Linked DNA regions of Homo sapiens: region 1 is linked to region 2. The links are contacts of gene promoters, found by promoter capture Hi-C in blood cells and fetal thymus (Javierre and others, 2016). All regions are on one chromosome and are shown on one strand. The core of a region is centred on a gene start or on the middle of the fragment in contact, and the rest is flanking DNA. Distances in the headings are between cores, read along the strand shown.

Region 1 (7,018 bases), core at 3,224-5,723, 460 kb before region 2:
GGCTGTCTTCCACGCACTGGTCAGGCACCGATAGGAGGCAGGGCCCATCATCTGGCGGGCAGCCCCCCGATTTCTCTGTAAGAGAATCTCCTAATATTGCAGCTGGAGGAAGCTCACGGTTATGTAATAAGCGCTGACCTGGGAATGACAAGACTGAATTCTCCATCCCTTGCTTTTTGCCTGTCTTTTGGCTAGTTGTTATTTTTGTTTGTTTGTTTGTTTATAATGACTCCAAGCCTCAGTTTTCTGGCTGTGAAATGGGAAGCTGGGCTAGTTTGAGACTCAGATGGCACAAATGACAGGGGAAAATGAAGCCCAACATCTCCACTGTGGCCAATAAGGCCATGCCTGGTCTGGGCCCTGCCCATCTCTCTAGCCCCATCCTCTACTGCCCTCCCACTCAGTGCCTCCTGATCTGCTCCAAGCCAGCTCTCTCTGCAGGGCTCTTGCTCGGGCCGCATCCTTTGCCTAGTGCACTTCTCCTGTACTCCATGCGCCTGGTCAGCTCATTAGGACTCAGCAGAAACATCGCATCCTCAGAAGACCCTACTTCTCTGACCCCACATTAACTAGGTCAGCGCCCCCCCACCCCGGCCCCCACACACACACTCATTTCTTTCCTCCAGAGTTTGTGATGCTGCATCTGTTTGTCTGTGTCTCTCACTTGGCTGGAGGTGAGGAGAGTAGACACCCTGCCAGCTTTGCTCACCGTTGGTCCATATCACAGCCCTTGGCGCACAGCAGTAGGGCTCAGTGACTTGGAAAGAAAGGGTTTTGAAGTGAGGCCCAGCATTGCACGTGCGTCAGCAGTGGCCAGCCTGGTGCACTGTCACAGCCACAGCTGGCCACGTCTTCTGCACCGTTGCGTTCATCACTGTTGCAAATGGCATGGTTTCGAGGATCAGGCGTTAACTCTGTCTCTGAGGCGTTCCTCTGAATGGTATAGAGTGTCCTGTCCCAGAGCTTACCTAACATTCTTCTTGCTGGGATTTTGGGCCATGTTCATATTTCATGCACAAAGCTGGAAATCAGTATCCTCCTCCATGTAGAGGAGGAAATCAAGGCCTGAAAAGGGCAGTGACTTGTCCAGACCCACATGGGCTGGGCTTAGGACTCCCAGGGCCCGGCTCCCTCTGACCTCTGTGAGTGTCCACCCTGAGCTGTCTTTGAGCTGTAGGGATGGAGCAGGTCCCAGGTCTTCAATTCAATCCAGCATCAGAGAAAATGTTCAAGAGTTCCGAGGGGCAGCTGGATCTGGTTCTGTGACTTTACCTCTGTGTCCGCCCCTCCCCCTCAGCCCCCTGCCTGGGTGCTGGCTGCACACATAAGTAGGCACCTTGCTCACATCCTACGTGCGCTAAGTCAACTTCAGCTGTCACATCGGGTTGGTTTAAATTAAATTGCTGCCCCCTGCTGGAGAAAGAGAGGCTTGGCGTGGGGAGGGGGAAAAAGTGTGGGTTTGGGGTGGTGGGGGTGATGGGAGGGTTCCTGGGAAACTGTCTGAGGTCCAAGGTTTAGCCCTGAATTCACAAGTCCAAGTCAAAGGTGCGCAGGCCTCAAAGGGTGGGCCAAACGGAGCTGCGTGCACTCAAAGCCGGTGGAGCCGGGTGGGTCAGGCAGGGAGAGCTTCTGTGGCGAGGGGCCTGGGGCTGGCCTTGGGGAATGGACAGATAGGGATGGGGCATGACAGCTGGCATTTCCAGTGGAAGAACTGCGATAGCTGCAATGTGGAGGTGGGGATAAAAGCCTGGCGTGTGCAGAGCCGGCGTGAGAGGCTCTGGGTGGTCACACTCACTCTGTTTGCCTGCCTTTCCTAACAGTCCCTCCAAACCAGGTTCTCCACTCACAGATGTGTACATCGAGACAGTCACACACACAGATGGTCATCCAGATGCATGCGCCATGGGTGTGTAGACTTAGAGAGCAAAAGAATCGTATCCAAACATGGTTAAATATATACACTTGTACACACAGACGATACACACATAGTCAAATACACAAGCACATTTAGATCTAGACACACAATTAGCTACAGGCTTAACAGTAGGAAACTGCAGATAGTCAACTGTTTTATCTACAAAAGTAGCAATTTTACATGGTTCAACTTAATACACACATATATACATATGGACATATATCAGAGAGTTATATATATGCAATATATTTATAAACATATATAAACAGGCAGTCATGTATGTACATATGAGCTGGAACATAATCACTGTCATTTACACATGCCTACCCACATAGATACATACACACAGATAGACACTCAGACACACACAGTTATGTATATAAATATATAAATATATAGCATATGTATGTGAACAGAGAGACATACATAAGCATACACAGTCATATATACAGAATCATATGCACAGAGCTACACAGACACATATATCTTCCCAATACCACATAACCACTGACAGCATTTAATTAGGCACTTGCTGTTTATCAGGGACTATGCCAGGCTCTTTGTATCAGAGACACCCAGACGTTTGAGTGAGAAGGGGGCAGAATGGGGAGCTCTTATAAACAGAGGCGGCTGGGCTTCCACAGGCAACAAACTGAGACTTCCCTTCCCTTGGCTTCGTCACCTTCCTCCATTGTCTGAAATTCTACCAACAGCTCGGCAATGTCTTACAGGAGAGAAACCAGTGGGGGACAAGGTGTGGTGAACTGGGGGAGAGACAAGCTTGTCACACCTGCCCATGCAGAGTGGCCCTGCGCAGGCTCGGTTTCTGCTGTGCCAGCTCTTTGCCTCTGAGCAGCTGGGCTGAATATTGGGGTGTGCTCCCTGGGAACACAATGACTCCCCCAAATCACCCACTTATGCTGTGCTTACTGTGTGCCAGGCCCTTATTCCTCGAGACACCATTTACTCCTGAGAGAGAGGCATGGGACCCCATTTTACAAGGAGTAAGTCTCCAGACCTGTCCTGTTGCCTTCCAGGAGTGTCCTGCCTGGAAGTCCTAATAAACTCATGCACTTGCCAATCTGGCCTTGTCTAAGTCATTCTTTGTTCTCTCAGCTCCTTCCTATGTTGGGGGTGCATTGTCCTGTACAGTCCTGGGTTTTTGCTGTAATAGTTGGTAAAGTGAATCTTTCTGATTTCAAATACTTGCACTCATGCACTTGCTAATCTGGCCTTGTCTAAGTCATTCTCTGGTCTCTCAGCTCCTTCCTATGTTGGGGGTGCATTGTCCTGTACAGTCCTGGGTTTTTGCTGTAATAGTTGGTAAGGTGAATCTTTCTGATTTCAAATACTTGCATTCAAATGCCACATTTGGCACTAACTCAGAGTCAGTCTTTGACCTTGTTAAGTGGTTCCCCGCTATGCCTCAATTTTCCTCATCTGCAAAATGGGGATGAAAATAGTCCTGTCCTCACAGCACCTTGTCGAGGAGTTACGTGATGATGGTGCATGAATCACAGCCAACACAGGGTCCAGCCTTGGAGCTCACCAGTGTACTTCCTTCCTCAGCCTGTCCCCATTACTGTCCCCTTTCTTTAAGGCAGGGCAAGGGTTGCACAGGTGAATGTAGGTTGGAGTGTTCCAGCCCCAGAAAAGGACGCAGGTGGAGGCCTCACCCAGATCAGGAGTCACCTGTCTAGCCACTCAGCAGCCCTCCCTCACCTGTCAGCAGGCCAGCCCCAGCCTTGTCAGGGGTGGGAATGGGGACAGGAGGTTGGGGGCGATGAGAGTTAGAGACAGAGCTTCCTCCCCACAAAGCCCAGATCCCAGAAGCCACACCCTCTCCTCAATTCCCAAGTCCCTTCCACAGATGGGGTGGTGGACCCACTGACCCAGTCACACCACAGCCCAGCAGGCACAGACAGGGTCCCTCCCCACACCTGAAGGCACAGAGACACACATGGACAGGCACCAAGCTCAGACACATGCGTGCAGCCATTCCTAAGTGTACGTGTGCAGACAGAGCTTTGCACAGACAAGCAGACGCAAAGACACATGTCTACACAGACACAGGCACATGCATTCCCCGCCCTGCCACCCCCTGACATATAGACAGGCACAGACAAGCACCGAGAAACTGGCAGAAAAGACACTTACAGATACCAACACAGGCAGGTGGACAGGCACAAATGTACACACATAAAAACACAGGCTTCTGAAAGCACTAAGAATCAGGCATCCACACATACACACACGCACGCACGCACACACACACGCGCACACACACCCCACAGGGCATTACCTGCCTTCCCCCAAACCCTTACTCTCCCTAGAGAAGTAGAGACAATCTGGTCCCCCCAGCAGAGGGATTTCCCGCACTCACCTCCCTTCTTCCTGCCAAAGACAGCAGGCAGCTGACTCCCCACAGCCAGGAGGGCCCCCAGGAGGAGAAGGCTCTGGGTCCTCATATTTCTGCTGCCGGCTCAGGGCCCAGGGCCCCCCAGATTAACACCTGCAGCCTCAGGGAAGCCAGAGAAACTTAGTCAGGAGAGGAAAGAGAGGGGGTGTGGAGTGACACCGTGCCTGCTTCATCTTGGCCCCACCCCCTGAGGGCCCGAGGACTCAGTGCAAGGGATGCTGTCACAATAGCTGAAGATAGGGTGGCGGCACATCCTGCATGTGGGGGACTCAGATCCAGTCTTGCCTGTATCGGTGACTTGGGCTGTGATCTTGGGCAAGTCTTGTCTCTCTGGGCTTCAGTTTTTTCATCTGTACACAGGGTGAAGGTTGTTGAGGCAGATGCTTGCTATCCTGGCTCTCAAAGATGTTGAAGCCCCAGCGATGTCTAGGCAGCGGGTAGAGGTCAGCTTTGAATAGCAAAGGAGTGGGGGTTTGCAGAGTTCTGGATGCCTAGGAAGGGAGAAGGCATTAGGGTTAGGCCAGAGCTTGCAGCCAAAGAAGGCTGGCCCAGGCTGGCATAATGAGTGAGGCCAGCCCTGGCCTCTCCTCTTGGGTCCTGTGGATGGGAGAAAGACCACCCCGCCTTTGGTGAGATCACCAGTGGCTTCTGATAGAACTGCCCTCTTCCTGGGGCTGGCTTGGCTGTTGAGGGTGGGGGAGCATGGCTTTTGGCTTGGCTAAGTTTGCTGGTCACAGCAGATGTGTGGCCACTGGAACCTCTTCTCTGGCCCTAAGGGATCCTGAGCAAAAAAATGTCATCTCATCCAGGGACCCCCACCTTAGATTTCGTATCTCTGATGTTGCCTCCTGCATTTGGTAGAAGAGAGGGAGCTGAGACTTGGCATCCTAAGGGACATCCTAAACAGAAACTCCATCGAAGTACATTCTCTCAGCCTTCTCATTTGAAAGACGAGGAAACTGTGAGATAGAGATGAGAGGGGACTGGCCCAAGGACACGCAGCTAATTCCTGACTAAGCTGGGACTTCCCACTGTGGCCTCCCCATCACCCTCATTCAGTTCCTGGGTTTTAAAAGCAGGTCAATACCTCATCTGATCCTGAGAAAGGAGGGTGATATTACAGGGCTTGTCTCACTTACCCATTCCAATCCAGGACAGCCCTGGCAGCAGGAAGTTCTTCCTTGGGTTTAATGTGAATCTCTCGTGCTGTCTTCTAAGCTATTAAGATAGGAGAGGCTCTGTCTTCTATGATCTGATGTTGCTTTTGGAATGCTGGCACCTCCTTGGAAGCTTTATTTTGGAGGACAAATATATGAGCCCTTCCTTCCTCCCTCCCTCCACCCCTCCCTCCCTCCACCCCTCCCTCCCTCTTTCTTTCTTTTTTCTTTTCTTTCTTTCTTTTTCTTTTTCTTTCTTTCCTTTTTTCATTTCTTTCTTCTTTCTTTCCTTCTTTCCTCTCTTTCTTTCCTTTCTCTTTCTTTCTTTTCTTTCTTTCTTCTTTCTTTTTCTTTCTTCTTTCTTTCCTTTTTTATTTCTTTCTTCTTTCTTTCCTTCTTTCCTCTCTTTCTTTCCTTTCTCCTTCTTTCTTTCTTTCTTTCTTTCTTTCTCTCCTTCTCCTTCTTCTTTCCTCTCTCTCTTTCTCTTTCTCTCTCTGTCTTTGACAGAATGTCGCTATGTCACCCAGGCTGGAGTGCACAGTGCCATCATGGCTCACTGAACCCTTGACCTCATGGACCCAAGTAGTCCTCCTGCCTCAGCCTCCTGAGTACCTGGGACTATAGGCATGCGCCCCAATATTTGGCTAGTTTTTATTTTTTGTAGAGATGGGGGGTCTTCCTATGTTGCCTAGGCTGGTCTCTAACTCTAGGACTCAAGTGATTCTCCCACCTTGGCCTCCCAAAGTGCTGGGATTCCAGGGGTGAGCCACTGTGCTCAGCCATGAAATGCTCTTTTTTTTTTTTTTTTTTTTTTTTTTGAGACGGAGTCTTCCTCTGTCATCCAGGCTGGAGTGCAATGGGGCAATCTCTGCTCATTGCAACCTCCGTCTCCTGGGTTCTAGCAATTCTCTGCCTCAGCCTCCCAAGTAGCTGGGACCACAGGCGCCCGCCACCATGCCTGGCTAATTTTTTGTATTTTTAGTAGAGACGGGGTTTCACCATGTTGGTCAGGCTGGTCTTAAACTCCTGAATTCAGGTGATCCACCCGCCTCGGCCTCCCAAAGTGTTGGGATTACAGGCATGAGCCACCATGCCAATGCTTTTTAAATTAAAATTATTTTGTAGACATTTTCCTGTGCTGTGAAATGTTCTCTAAACATCATGTTTTCTGATGGCTACATGCTGTTTTGTTAGATCTATATGTCAAAACATCACTTCAGTAAAGTTTTTAGGGAAAAAAGATATGCCAAAATATACACAATCAGTATCCTATTATGAAACATGGAGGTTTCCAATTTTCCACTTTCATAAATAAAGCTGTGATAACCATCTTTTTGTGTACATTTTGGAGTCACATCTCTGACTGTTTTCTTAAAGTAAATTTGTCAAAGTTAGAAATGCTAGGTCAAAAGGCACAGTCATGTTTCCAGGCGTTGGATATATCTGGTCAAATTAAATTTCAGAAAGGAAGTAAGTGAGTGTACAAGAGCCTCCACCTGCCCTGCCATAGACCTCTATTGTTTCGTC
Region 2 (6,954 bases), core at 785-3,284:
TAAAGTGCTGTCAAGTGTCCTAAGAGCAAGAGGCCTGCAATGTGCCTTACAAAGAAATTACTTGTGTCAGATAAGCTTGGTTCAGGCATGAGTTACAGGGCTTTCAGCCACAATTCAATGTTAATGAAACAATAATATATATTACATAAGGTGTCTTTTTTTTTTTTTGAGATGGAGTCTCACTCTGTCGCCAGGCTAGAGTACAGTAGTGCGATCTCGGCTCGCTGCAACCTCCGCCTTCTGGGTTCAAGTGATTCTCCTGCCTCAGACTCCCGAGTAGCTGGGATTACAGGCACCCACCACCACGTCCTGCTAATTTTTTGTATTTTTAGTAGAGATGAGGTTTCACTGTGTTGGCCAGGATGGTCTCAATCTCCTGACCTAGTGATCCGCCTGCCTCAGCCTCCCAAAGTGCTGGGATTACAGGCATGAGCCACCGCGCCTGGCCTATATACATGTTTAAAAAATAAAGACAGGGCCAGCACGGTGGCTCATGCCTGTAATCCCAGCACTTTGGGAGGCTGAGGCAGGCAGATCACCTGTGGTCAGGAGTTCAAGACTAGCCTGGCCAACACGGTGAAACCCTGTCTCTACTAAAAATACAAAAATTAGCCTGGAGTGGTGGTGCACACCTGTAGTCCCAGCTACTCAGGAGGCTAAGGCAGGAGGATCCCTTGAACCCAGAAGGTGGAGGTTGCAGAGAGCCGAGATCACACCACTATGCTCCAGCCTGGGGGACAGAGAGAGATTCCCTCTCAAACAAAACAAAAAAAATAAAAATAAAAATAAATAAATAAATAAAGTATGTAGAGTTTTATTTAATAATTAACCACACAGATTAAAAAATAGAAAGTAGCCAGCTTCCCAGAAGTCTTCTGTGTGCACCTTCTAATTACCATCTCTGTCATGTGTCTTCAGACAGAAGCACATATAAAAACAAGGTTATGTATTGATCAAATGATGAAAATGTGTGGTCAGAGGCTTGCATTTTCCCTAGGAGCAATGGCTCAGTATTTGCTAATCCGGTGTTCACAGTGACTTTACAGAACATAACTACCCCCAAGTAATGGGAATCAACTGTATTTTTATTACTTTGGTGTACAAAGAACTTTGAGCTCTCCATGGCTTGCCACAACAAAAGACTTCCTAGGCAAATTGTCTACTGCTTTGTTCCAAGTGGGGGCTCTACTTGAGGCTGTGGGACCAAGACAAAAGAAGCAGCCTCTATGTGGATTAGGCCCCTTCTCCTGGCAGAGAGAAAGCACAAAGGAGCTGGCAGAAACTCACAGTGCAAAACTCACTATGCATATGCTACATCTGCTCATACTCCAATAGGCAAAGCACAGCTGACAGCAAACCCAAAGTCAATGAGACAGAAATGTGTCTTCCTTCCACGGGCCGTTCTAAAATTGCAAGGTAATGGACAGGAGTGTCCTCTTAAAGGAAAGATGGAATGAATAGTTGTGAATAATAATATAACCCATCACTACTACTCCTGTTTTAATTTTTTGAAAATGTTTAGATACATATTATATGCTTGTTTAATTTAAAATATCAAACTTTACCTTGCTCAGGCTCTGCCCCTCCACACTGGGCCACTCAAAGATGCCCAACTTACCCTACTTGGGCTCCAACAGCCATATCAGGTTGCATTCGAGACCAGCCTGGCCAACATGGTGAAACCCCGTCTCTACTAAAAATGCAAAACTTAGCCGAGCGTGGTGGCGCACACCTGTAGTCCCAGCTACTAGGGAGGCTAAGGCAGGAGAATCGCTGGATGCATTGATGCCCTCTTCACCCTGCTTAGGCTCTGATTCCTGACACAAGACAGCTCTGTTCTGTGGAACCCCTCCTCACTATGCTTGGCCCAACTCCCCACAGCCGACCACTCTAACTTCTATGTATCCTCCTCATCTCCTTGGGCTCAGACCCTCCATGTCTGGCTACCCACCCCCATAGACACCCTCCTCACCCTCCTTCAGTTCGGACAGTCCACATCAGGCCTCTTCCCTATGGAGACAGCTTCCTCACTTTGCTCCAGCTCTAAGGCTCCTCCCTCATCTGCTCCCCTGCCTGGACACTCTGCTCACCCCACTCAGGCTCTCATTCTATGCCAGTCTGCCCCTCTAGCCCCAGGGGGATGCCTTTCTCAACATGGGCAGGCTGGTCTCCATGCTATGCTGCTTCTTGCCTCTTCACTGGGCATTCTCATCTACCCCTGGCTCCAGCACACCAGGCCAGCAGCCCTCCTACAGAGACACCCTCCTTGACCTGTTCCAGCTCTGATGCCCACACGGAGCCAGCCGTGGCTCCCTTCCCCTTGGGGCAAACGCCTACCTTGCTAAATGTGCCTATCTAATGGCTTTAGGACTGACTAGTTCAGTTAGTAAAGAAAAGGAGACAAAACAAGGAAGAGCTACTTTTCCTTTTTGTAAAAATATGTATTGTGAAAAACACCACAAAAATAAAAATATGCATGAAACATTAATGTTCAGTCTAACGAACTATTACGAAGTGACCACTCATTAAACTATCACTGAAATCAAGTAAAAAATTTCCAACACTTTCTGCTCCTTTTTCATTCTTTTCCAGTCACAACCCCTTCCTATGCTCTCAAAGGCAGCTAATGGTAGTGACTTTCTTTTTCATATTTTCAAGATCATATGTATTCCCCTAAATATGTTTTTGTTTTTGTCTGCTTCTGTTCTATATCAATGGAGTCACTTGGAATGTATTCTTTTGTGCCTGGCTTTTTGTGTTCAACATTATATTAATGAATTCCATCCACATTGTTTTGTGTAGCTGTATTTTGTCAATTTTCATTGCCATGCCATCTATTGTATGACTACACACATCTCTACTGAGTTGTTTATAGTTTGCAGCTGTTAAGAATAAAGCTGCTGTGTGTATACATAGCATGTATGTAATAACGTTCTGCACGTGTATCCCAGAACTTAAAGTATAATAAAAAACTAGGATTTTCTAAATAAAAATGTTATTTATATCAACATGTAATAAGTTTATTACGTTAAATGAATTAATAAATGTTTTTAAATGTCAAAAAAATTTTAAACAATTTACTCATGTAAAAAAAAGAATAAAGCTGCTATGAACACTCTGTGTGCATTTGCTGGAGCACGTGGGCAGGTGTTCTTGTAGGTTATACATTCAGCATAGGGAATGATGGGTTACAGGGTATGCATATCTTCAGCTTCTCAAGCTGATACCAAATTATTTCCCAAAGAGTTTGTACCAATTCACAGCCTTGCCATTGGTAGTTGAGAGTTCCTATTGTTCCATAACCATGCTGTATGTAGAACTGTCACAATCTTTTCATTTTTACCATCCTGCTACGAGTATGGAAATACATCACTGTGGACTTAATTTAAATTTCTTGACTACTAATGAGGTTGAGCACCTTTTTAGATCTTTATTAACCACTTGGCTATCCTCTCTTTGATTTTCTTTTCAAATGTTTTGCTCATTGTTCTCTGGGGTTTTCTGACTTTTTCTTGCTGATTTCTACTGGAGTCATGTCTTTCCTCAGTTATATGTATTATGAACATCTTCCAGGATCAAGGGTAATCTTCTAAAACCCTTATTGGCTTGTCTTTTACCTTTTGAATGAAAGTTTTTATCACGTGCCCTTCCTACCCCAAAGACAGAATCAGGAATCCTTTTTCTATGTTCCTTTCCTACAATACAATAACTCGCTACAATACAATACAGTAACTCCAATATCTGAAGTCTTTGTGGACCTCTGCTGTTGGTTGTTTTTCTTGATTTTTTTCATCTTGTTTTCTTAAGATCTGTGTGATTTTTTTTATTGTGAGAGTACATATTTAATGGAAGTTTATGTATGTAACAATACTTTGTGGAATTTCTTGGATTCCTGTGTTTAAAGGAGAATTCTTCCGAATCAACTTGTCCTCAATTTTTCCCTAACAACTCATGCAATTTTGAATTAAATTCATAGCTTTAGATTTATCAGACCATGCACATGTGCCAATTTTCCTACTCTGCTCTTATGAAAGGAAACAAGGTTGCAGTTACAAATTCTCAGAATAGTCTTTTTTTTTTTTTTTGAGATGGAGTCTCGCTCTGTTCCCCAGGCTGGAGTGCAGTGGCACTATCTCAACTCACTGCAACCTCCTTCTCCCGGGTTCAAGTGATTCTCCTGCCTCAGCCTCCTGAATAGCTGGGATTACAGACACGCACCACCACGCCTGGCTAATTTTTTTGTATTTTTAGTAGAGATGGGGTTTCACCATGTTGGTCAGGCCGGTCTCGAACTCCTGGCCTCGTGATCCACCCACCTCTGCCTCCCAAAGTGCTGGGATTACAGGCATGACCCACTGCACCCAGCCCAGAGTAGTCTTTTTTCCTGTTTTGTTCAGAGCCAAAGCCAAGACAGGCAAGTTCCTTCACCACAGTTGTGCATGTGTGTGTTTCTGTTTCATCCATTTATTTCTGTTTCATCCATTTATTAAGGTGTCAGCATTTGGTGATCCTTGTGAGTGAGATTTCTGATCTGACTTTTCACATTGCTTAGGGCTTAGCTCTTTTTTCTTGCCCTTGCCAGGGGCCCACTAAAATTCAAACTGCAGATTACCAGGCATTGGCAGATACTCCCAGGGAAGCCTCTAACTAAAGCACTTCCTTATCTCTCTGGAGTCAGACCTTCACATCATTTTTGGCTTTTAAGAATTCCTCTTTCTTGCCAACTGACTCATTGATTTAAAGAGTCATGCATTTTAAGTATTTTAGACAATATTTTGGGGGGGTGATTTACTGGGAATAGTTTCTAAGAGTCCTAGTTATGAATTTTTAATTATAAAATTACACACATCAAATACCCAATAAGTGAAACAGTACAAAGAACATATAAAGAAAAGGTAATAATTTCTAAGCCACATCTCTCCATTTCTAACTCCCTCAATATTAATAGCCTTGGTTGATAATTAATAACCAATTTTAATGGGCTGTTTTGTACCCTTACCATCTTTCTCTGCGTCCAAATATATACAATCATGTATGTATATGGGTTCTGATACTTGGAAAACAAAATGAAATTATGATGTATACATTCACTACTACTGTACTTGCTTCTTTTCACTTAACTCTACCTCATGTAAGTCCATCCATATAAAAATGTAGATTGAAAATTGCCTTAAATAGATGCCCACACTCTGTTCAACATCTCTGCTCTTAAATTACTGCTAGTCTTATGGAAATTGCAGAGTTGCTTAATTTGCATATCCCCAACTACTACTGATATTAATCTTCTTTGCTTTTTAAAGTTTTTTAGTTAAAAAATTTATAATTGACAAATAATTTTATATATATTAGTGTGATATTTTCATATACATATACTTATATTGTGAAATGATTAAATCAAGCTAATTAACATCTCCATCACCTCACATACCTATCTTTTTTTGTGACAAAAACATTTAAAACCTACTCTCAGCAATCTTCAAGTGCTTTTAATTATCGGCCATTTGAATTTTCTCTTTCGTGAACTGCTTGTGCAAATCTTTTTCTATTGAGATGTTTGTCATTTTCTCATCAATGTGTTTATTAGAAAAAATAACTTCTGGCTAGTCATATGTATTGCAAATATTTCCCTCAGCCTGTAGTTTGATTTTTATTTATTATGTGTTTTGTTCTATAAAAATTTAAAGAGTTATGTAATCAATAATGCTTATTAATTTTTCTTTATGTCTTACATTTCTTGCTTAAGAAGTTCTCTCCAATGCTAACATTTGAGATCATTCTCCTAATTTTTCTCCTAAGTTATTTATTTAAAAAAATCTAACACATAGGACAGAGATTTCTACTTTTCTGGGAAAATGAACTAGATGGACTTTTCTCTATTCCTCTGATGAAATTCAGCTAAAAATCCTGGACATTAAATACACAAGAAGATTCTGAAAGGTAATAAGGGCAAGGCAGACGAGCCAGAAACCTTAAGACCTGAAGAACAGCACGGCAGCGGGATTACTGAGTTTTCTTTTTGCCTCACATATTCAAGACTGGGTGCTAGAGAAGCTGGAAACCCAGAAACACAGAAACAGAGACAATAAAAGCCTCAAAAACAAAACAAAATGCAACACAACAAAAAACCAGCCTGCTCACTCTTGCCAAAGGACCAGGAAAGAGGCAGCCTAATAAGACGGAAAACATTGAACAATAACCACTAGTATAGCCAAACACGTAGTTCCACCCCCATCAGAGCTGAGAGAGGAGCCTCAACTTCTGCCTTTACCAGGCTGAAAGGAGGAGCCCCAGTCTCCCTGCAAAGAGCCCAGACTTTGGTCACCACCAGACAGTAATGATGCTGCCTTCCCCCAATGCGTGTGCTGTCAGTGGAGGCCGTGTGGGGAGCAGAAGGATACTTCTATCCCTCTCTGCTAGAGAGGTATCAGTGGAACTTATTGAGGAGCTAGACCTCCCACCCCAGCCCAGAAGTAATGAGAGGAAACCACTCCCCCAACTCAGTTGTCAACAAAGACTCAATGGGGAACCTGATTTCTACCCCCATCCGGCAGTAATGAGGTGGTGCTCCACTCTTCCCTGCTGGAAGGGTGACAGAAGAAATCAAGGTTTAAATGAGATCTAGAATCTCATAAAATAAAACCCAAAGTTTCCAACTTTCAATACAAAATTATTTGTTATATCAAAAACCAGAAAAATCTCAAACAAAATGACAGAAGATTATTAATAGGTGCCAACACTGGGATGACAACGATGTTATAATTATATGATAAAAATTGTAAAGAGGTCATCATAAAGAAGCTTAAAGGAGCAATTATAAACAAACAAAGATATTAAAACAGAACGTCTCAGCAAAGAAATAGAAGATATAAAGAAGAAACAAATGGACATTTTAGAAAATTTTAAAAGCGTATAACTGAAATACAAACTCAATGGATGAGCTTAACAGCCAAATAG

What was found. The method cuts DNA at HindIII sites, captures the fragments that hold promoters and counts their contacts. A CHiCAGO score of 5 or more calls a contact.
Region 1: a contact is called between the fragment with the promoter of WFDC5 here and the fragment with the promoter of WFDC8 in region 2, in 4 of 17 cell types (M2 macrophages, M0 macrophages, M1 macrophages and 1 more). The highest score is 7.8, in M2 macrophages.

What each region holds. Positions count from the first base shown.
Region 1 is chr20:45,110,701-45,117,718 of GRCh38, forward strand. It overlaps WFDC5 (WAP four-disulfide core domain 5), which reads right to left and starts at 4,474. Exons shown (of 4, transcript NM_145652.4): 1 at 4,299-4,474; 2 at 1-75. The coding sequence starts at 4,383. RefSeq lists enhancers at 3,910-4,411, 4,412-4,911. The HindIII fragment of the contact is 2,929 bases long and covers 2,694-5,622 here.
Region 2 is chr20:45,577,250-45,584,203 of GRCh38, forward strand. It overlaps WFDC8 (WAP four-disulfide core domain 8), which reads right to left and starts at 2,035. Exons shown (of 6, transcript NM_130896.3): 1 at 1,973-2,035. The coding sequence starts at 1,998. RefSeq lists an enhancer at 850-1,785. The HindIII fragment of the contact is 6,723 bases long and covers 74-6,796 here.